Linked DNA regions of Homo sapiens: region 1 is linked to region 2. Evidence: promoter capture Hi-C in 16 types of primary human blood cells and fetal thymus (Javierre and others, 2016). All regions are on one chromosome and are shown on one strand. Each heading gives the region's core, a stretch centred on a gene start or on the middle of the fragment in contact. The rest is flanking DNA. Distances are from core to core; before and after follow the strand shown.

Evidence for each region. Contacts are between HindIII fragments. The CHiCAGO score rates a contact against its expected background, and 5 or more counts as called.
Region 1: a fragment that was not itself captured here is called in contact with the fragment with the promoter of PARP8 in region 2 in 11 of 17 cell types (activated CD4 T cells, neutrophils, M0 macrophages and 8 more); the score reaches 9.6 in activated CD4 T cells.

What each region holds. Positions count from the first base shown.
Region 1 is chr5:50,765,518-50,769,186 of GRCh38, forward strand. All of the region lies in intron 7 of PARP8 (poly(ADP-ribose) polymerase family member 8), which reads left to right. Among named protein-coding and RNA genes, the nearest start is that of PARP8, 100 kb to the left of the region's middle. The HindIII fragment of the contact is 828 bases long and covers 1,132-1,959 here.
Region 2 is chr5:50,664,550-50,668,431 of GRCh38, forward strand. It overlaps PARP8 (poly(ADP-ribose) polymerase family member 8), which reads left to right and starts at 2,088. Exons shown (of 26, transcript NM_024615.4): 1 at 2,088-2,637; 2 at 3,522-3,576. The coding sequence starts at 2,547. RefSeq lists silencers at 1,931-2,080, 2,131-2,190, 2,883-3,212 and enhancers at 2,363-3,275, 2,711-3,882. The HindIII fragment of the contact is 4,109 bases long and covers 365-3,882 here.

The sequences.
Region 1 (3,669 bases), core at 296-2,795, 100 kb after region 2:
TTTGGAAATTCAGTCAAATGAAGTATCTAAAGTCATATCAGTGTTTTGAATTTTTTCCCCTTAACCCTTTTCACTTGTAATAGTTTTGATCCAGTTTAAATCTTAATGAATGTAAGCCATGTTCCTGCCTGCTCTAGATTTTCTCTAGCTGTAGAGGATATTTCCAAAATAAATATCTTCCTAGAGTCTTCATGGTACAAAGGTGAATCACAGCAGGACTAGTTTGATTTACTTAAATGGGAATGAATTTACTGTCTAGTTTCAAATACTTAGGCTTGGATTCAAGGGAAAAGAGGTGGGTAGTTAGGCAGAAGGTCTTGAAATCATCTTCCTTGCAAAGTTCTAAGTCTGTTGAAAACAGACTGTTCTAATTAGCTGTTCTTTTACCTAATTGGGGCTTACAAGAACTTAATGAAGTTTGAAGAGCAAAAGTAACTCAATATGCACAACAGGCTATTAGGAGTAATTTTTTTTTTTAAAGCAACGTCTAATGAGAAAGGCAGCTAACCACATCTAAGTTCTCTGTAAGAGATGGAAGTAACTGAGATTGCCTAGGCAAAATCCTGAGATTATTGAGGCAAAATCCTCTTAAAGAAGGCTGAAAGAAGGTGTAGAAAAAGTGAGTGATGATAGATATATTACTTAAGTAGGTAATGACAATTCTACCTCACCATTCTATCCAAAAGCCTACTACTGGCTGTTGAATCATACATGTAAACATTGATGATAATTCTGATTTATAGTCTTTTGTATAGGAAGTGAGTTAGGTCTTGGGGCAACATGAACTTTGCGATCAGTCTGAATAAGTCTCATCTTGAATCATTCAACAAAACGCATTTTATGTTTTTCATTGTAAATGTACCTCCCTATATATTTATGAAAATAAAATTGATCAGTGTCATTGGAAAATAAATTGAAATTAGTATTTTTAGAAAGGGAATTACAGATCAGAAAATTCATATTTGTTTAGGAAAGAAATGATTCTGATAGTTTCTTTGTGAAATTTAAAACTTCCATTTAATATAAAATATTCTTTACCTTATTATCATGCCATCTTTCATTTAGAAAATTTAAGTCATATGAGTAATAGTCTAACCTTTTTATTGTGACTAATGCTTAATGTAGGCTGGAAGCTTCTAAAATTGTGACTGTTCTATTGTGACTGTTCTATTGTGAATAGTCAACTGTTGTGACTATTTCGATCACTTTTTGTGCACAGACAATTGTAATTGGGCCTTTTGAGGGTAACGTTTGGGAAACGAGCATTCTGAGAATTTGGGGTGGCTTAAGGAACGTATATCACGTTACTCATACCCACCAAACATGTATCTCCTTTAAAAAACAAAAATGGTAAATGAAAGGAAAGAAAAAAAATGCATACCTCAGAATGCACTGCTTTACATTCTCTGGATTTCTGAATTCTCATTTGTAGTGGCCAGTAGGACTGCTTACATATCTTCTGGTTCTCCTGTTCTGGTCTTATGGTAGGATTGTATTTCCTTTCACTCTTTAGTGTTAGGCATGGATATATCACTAATTTTGGCCAGTCATATGTGAGCTAAGTGCTAGTGTGTTAGTTCCCATGTCCCCTCAGCTCTGCTTCCTTGGGCCCCTTAGTGACGACAGTGAGCTGCCCCTCCCTAACCCCCAATTCTATATTAACAATAAGGTAGGAGTGAGATAGAAATCTTTTTTCGTTTTGAGCCACTGAGATTTTAAGAATGCTTATTACCACAACATACCTCAGCCTACATAGATGTATATCATTCATCAAAAAAAGATCTTGGATTGAATATTTTGTAATCTCCTTTCTAGCATATTGAGTCTTCATCCTCTGCCTCCAAGCCAAAGAATAAAAACAGTCTGACTCTGAAAATCAGGGAAGTGATGACAGGAGGCACAGAGGGGAAAGAAAGGAGAGAGCATTTTCCCAAACCACGGGGACATAATCTAGATGTAAGCTTCAGGTGCTCAGATCCTAGACACTAACCACTACTCCCAACGCAAGGGCTTTCTCCTAGCAAAACTGAAGATTTTTAAGCTGACTGCAGAGTTGTAGCAGTTGTTTATACTGTACCTCTTATGCACAGTTTTACATGAGCTTCCTTTCTTATCTGGATCTAATTTTTAAATTTTTCTCAGCCCTGTTGTTCTTTAGAGAAATTTATAGCTACCTTGGATGCAGTCTTGCAAATGCTTTAATCTGCCAGAATTTCTTCCTGACTACTGAGTTTGCATATTTCTTGGCCCATTCACAAACATCTCTCCCACGCTGGGCAAAAACCACACATTGAGTAGGCATGCAGAGATAGACATGCAAGCTGTTGAGTTTCAGATGACATGGGAAGGTGTATGTATCTTCACAAAATATCTGTCTTCTCAAAATATAACCATCCAGTTGTTGAAAGAAGAAATAAACAAGTAGCAATAGAGGCTTACTTCCTAGGAACATGTGGTAGAGTTGCATGCATGCACGTATGTGTATATACATATATGTGTGTGTGTGTGTGTGTGTGTTCCCTGACAGTTAATAAGACAAGGCTAGATATCTGAAATATATTTTCATAACCAACACAATGACTGCTGATTTTGATCAGGTTTCATTATAAAACATCATAACAGTGTAATGAATAAGCTGAAGTTTTATAGACAAAGGAGGACCAACATAGATGCTCCAACATTTAATATATTGTAAGTGTGTATGTGAGTGTCTCACGAGTGAGGATATTGTCTTGAGTAGTTCCATTAAAAATAGGAGAACAAATTGCTAAGAATTCTAACACAGTGGCTCAAAGTCCATATTCATTGAAAAAAAAAACTTTATACATATATGCTTAAATGAACTAAGTCACATTTAAATATCCAAAATCAAATTACCAGATTTCAAGAAATGTAGATTAAAAGAGTAGCTCACCCTGAATTTAATATGTCACTACATGTCGGGAAAGAACATTTGTGGAGGCATTCTTTTCAGACCAGAATGAAGCAATTTCGTTAGATCATTTCTGTATTGTTTCCCTCATATTAAAAAAATTTGAATTCATCAATTTGATGTGATCTTTTCACAGTGAATAAATATAGGCAGCACATGAAATTATTTTGAGTTATTATATACCGAATACTGCATTCAGGACACAATCAGATGTCTAGCTTCACAATTCAAGTTGTAGTCATATTTCAAGCATTCAACTTGATTCTGCATTTGCTATTCATGAGATCCTGGGCCACTGAAAGTTATTCAGATATAGAAGCAATCCTGATGACTGGGTCGCTGCATCTGGACAAACTGTAATCACGCTTTGTAATCTCTCAGTGGGAAATATGAAATTACTGGCATTATATAAAAAGGGCATCACAACGGAAATGGGTTTGCATATACACAGCGTCATTTGTGAATTCTTTGAAATCTGGCATACAAAGAAAAAAGTATAACTATTTATAGATCTACACCTGCAGAATCCAGTTAATTGCAAACCTTTAGGCCTCTGCCTCCTTAAAATTCTTTATTCATGTTCTGCTATGTTGAAGAAGAGGAACACTTGCAACCCTTCATTTCCTTTTTTTGGAGTGTTAGAAATTGGGAAGATACTTTTAACCAAAAGGTCATTTAAGACATCATATACAAAATACTTAGAAATTCACATGTAAGAGGTTTTAAAAGCATATATG
Region 2 (3,882 bases), core at 838-3,337:
GAGATAGAACTGTTTCATCTCAAAGGCGCATATAGTTTTTGATAAGGGAAGTATGTTGAGCACACATAATATAAACATTTAAATATTCGGAGATGGGGCAAGGTAAAGAAAGGATCCTGGATATGGGCTGACTTACTTTGAGCAAAGTGCTCCATAAGGATCTAGCCTGGAAGATCCTTGGAAGGATCTACGTTGGTATAGTTTTTAATTAGAGAAATTTATCTTGCAGAAATACATACTAGATAGGTTTTTATTTTTTAATCTTACTCCTTCAAATGTACAAATATTTATTAAATACATCACACCTTAAGGGCATGAACAGGGTGAGGTTAGCTTTGTTTAACCAAAACAGGGCAGCCCATGAAGCTTAAAAAAAAATCAAATATAGGACAAGTCACAAGAAGGCCTATTTTAAGGAGTGAGTAGTAAACTAAGAGCTCATCCAGACAAAAAAATATTTGGTAGCTTTAAAACTATTTCACATTTATTTGTAGTAAGGGTTCTACTTGGAAGATGCAAGCCTTGTGGCTAGATAACTATAAAATAAATTCTTGTGAGTTAATAGACTTTCAGCCTTTCAGAGAAATTAAAGCACATAATGGAAGAAGAAATACTCATGATTCTCAGTGGTGATGTGGAAGAGAAGAGAGCATTTTTGGCAGCCAAAGGGCCTACACAAAGCAACATATCCAGGAAGGACAAAGGGCTTGAACCTGTCCTACCCTAAACAGGAAGCATTTCAGGAGAGGACTGAGCAGGAGATATAGACTGTTGTGACTGTGGCTTTACTACATCAAAGGCTGCAGTGGATCTCAATAATGCAGAATGTTTCCTTTTGTAACTCATAGTGAATATGACTGGACAAGGAAATTATTTTGTAATTTGTTTCCTGAAAGATAAAGGAGTTAGAACATAGGATCTTTCATTGATTCTACAGAATCTTAAGACTCCTTCAGGGATGGCAGTCATTCCTACCGTGCTGAACATCATGTTGTCACGGTCAGAATCAGAACTAAATTGATTAAGGGTCTGAAACAGTTTGGCAACTCTTGGGCACTTATGCTGATAAGAAAAGTGATGAGACAGGGTAATGAAAAGAGGCTGCAAGAAATGACCATTCGTGCATTCAGCCAACATTTAGGCCACCCTCCTGTATTCCAGGCACTGTACATGGCACTGAGTATGCAAAGCAAAAGGAGTCATGGTCTACTGGCGGGAGCCTTCTCAGTGGAGAAAAGATCAACAAGAAAAGTGCCTGCTGGAGACCTCTCCTAGGGCATAAACCAATATAGAGGTGGGGCAGCTACGTCAGCCTGGGGTGTCCTTAGGCAGAACAGAAAGTGAGAATCAGAGCAGTATCTCATTTCTGAACACCTGGATTGTAGCTTTCCCTTGACTGTCAAAGGAGGTGGTTTTAAAAATCAAGCCAAACAGGTTTCCATCTTTTAGGAAGACCCTGGAACGTGCCAGTTGATTCTGACCATTTCTCATGAACAGAAACACCTAGGAAGGGAGAACTGGTGAGTTTCAAGAGGAGGAAGTCCCTCAAAAGGGGCTGTGTTTCGTAAACGGCGCCCCAAAAGGGCTGAACTACTTCGATCTGGAGGAAAAAGACTCAGGCACTGAGGGAAGGGGAGGGTGCACGTCTGGAGTAATTTTAAGGCCTTTTCCGTGTTATGTGATGTGGCAATAAGGAAAGATTTGTTCGTTTTATTATTTTTTTAATTTTTAAAGATTTTCTTTTCCCCCCTTTTCCCCCTCCCAGCCACTCCGGTTTGGGTTTGCCACAAGACTATAATTCCTTTAGAAAGTGGAGTCGAATTCATAAAAGTGATGGGGGGAGGGGCGCGGAGAGGGAAGGCTGGGAGCCCCAGGGAGTCTTCACGACCGCTCAGCTCCCGGCGCGAGTGGAGGTCGGTGTGGGGAGAAGCGGCTCCCGCCCGGGATGGCTAATACTCTGCGAGCCCCGGCAGCCCGCGGCCGGCGGGGTGACTAGGCGGCGGGCGCGGAGGGTCTGCGGCGGGCGGGCGGCGCTGCAGCAGCCTGGGCACGGCTGCCGCCGCCCGCGGGCGCGAGTGTGCGCGGGTGTGGAAGGCCGGCGTGCGAGCCGTGAGGGGTGTGCGCGCGTGAGCCGGAGCGGGGCTCGCCCCTCGCCGGCGCCCGCCGCCCAGCCGGTGATTGCTCTCTGGCTGTCCCCGGCACCTCGGCCCCCACGGCCGTTGGTCCGGGCGGGTGAGGGAGAAAGTGAGACTTGGTGTCATCACCATCCATTGTCAGAAGGGGAGGAAATTGGAATCCAGCAGCGGCGAGCAGCAGCTGGGCGGTCACATCTGGGAATGCAAAGCCGACCTCCCCCTCCTCCTCCTCCTCCCCCTCCTCCTCCTCCTCTTCTCTCACCCAGGATCACTTCCGAAACCACTTCGCCTTCAGCCCCTGCCTCGGCCAGAGGTTTCATTTTTAACTGAATATTTACGAAAGCTGGAAGCGTGCGAGGGGGGTGGGGTGGGGTGGAAATAGCGGCTGCTTCTTTTCCAGGGATTTATTTAATGGGGATGTGTTCAAGGCAAGAGCGAATTCAGAAGGATATCGACGTCGTGATCCAGAAGTCCAGAGCTGAGAAGGACTGCCTGTTTGCAGGTGAGTTCTTGCTTTTCCAGAACCTCGGACCCAGCGCCCCCTTCCCAGTTTTCTGACCGCGACGTCTGTGGCTGGGGGTGGGGTGGAGGGTTGCACGTCCCCATTCTGGGGTTCATTTGGCAACAGCTGCTGCAACGAGCGCGGGAGCCAAAAGGGGGAGGGGGCGCCAGCCTCTCCCCTTCCCCTCCCCCACCGCCAAGTCTGAGGCAGCCACCAGCTTTGAGGGCAGAGCCCGCGTGGCCGGAGCGGGGGTCTAGGCGAAGGGGCAGTGCGTGGTATTTCCAGCCCCGCGTAGTGCCCGAAGCCTCCAAGCACGCTTCCTGGGTTCCAGCAGCGGCGGCAGAGCGGGGTTGGTTTGCGCAATGGGCTGAGCGGCGGCGGCCGGGAATGGAGCCTGCTGCGCTGCGCTGCGCTTGTAAGCTGCGCCCGGCGCCGAGGACCCCCGGGGGGCAGCGCTCGGCCCATCTCCGGCCCCTTCGGCTCCCTCTAGTCCCCTCCGACTGGCAAAGAGAAGGGATTCCTCGGATTCCCAAGGCACCCAGCGCCCCTGCCTGGGGGTCGCCTTTCGTCCATTTTGCTCCCCCGGGATTTTGCTTTCGCTACCGCGAGCCCGGCTGAGGCTGCTTCCGGCCTCCCCTATCGGGAAATTCCCGCTGTTGCCATGGCACCCGGCACTTGTTGCGGGGGGCGGCCTCCCGCTGCACCCAGTCGGGGGCGCGCCGCATCCCCTCGGACGCGGCGCAGAGGGACCTCGCCGCCCTCTAGCCCTTGCCTTCTGCCCGGCCAGGCCTCCCCTGACACCACCGAATGTGGGGCTCAAGTCCTGATCGGGGTTAAAACAAATCCACTCCAGGGGTAGCTTTTGACGGGACTTTCTGTTTCAGATTTCAGATACTCTGACTCCACCTTTACTTTTACCTACGTTGGCGGCCCCAGAAGGTATTTATGTGTATAGAGTTGCTTCATTTCCTGTTCACACTCTTGTGTTTCCTTTGTTCTTAGCGTGTTCCGTGTTCGGGTATTTTGGTTGCTTGTTTGTTTGATTATTGTGGCTTTTCTTTACCTGCTACCCAAGCCTGACGTCCCTCGGTTTTAAATAGCAGGAGGAGGGGAATCAATGTTTGATTCAGGTGTTTCGAGGACCACGCCACAGGCAATGAGCAGAACTCTTCATGTTGAAACTGTTCTGCTACAGTACTAGATTGCTCTCAGGCGATTTGGGGTTGATACAGGCACGCCGGTGCA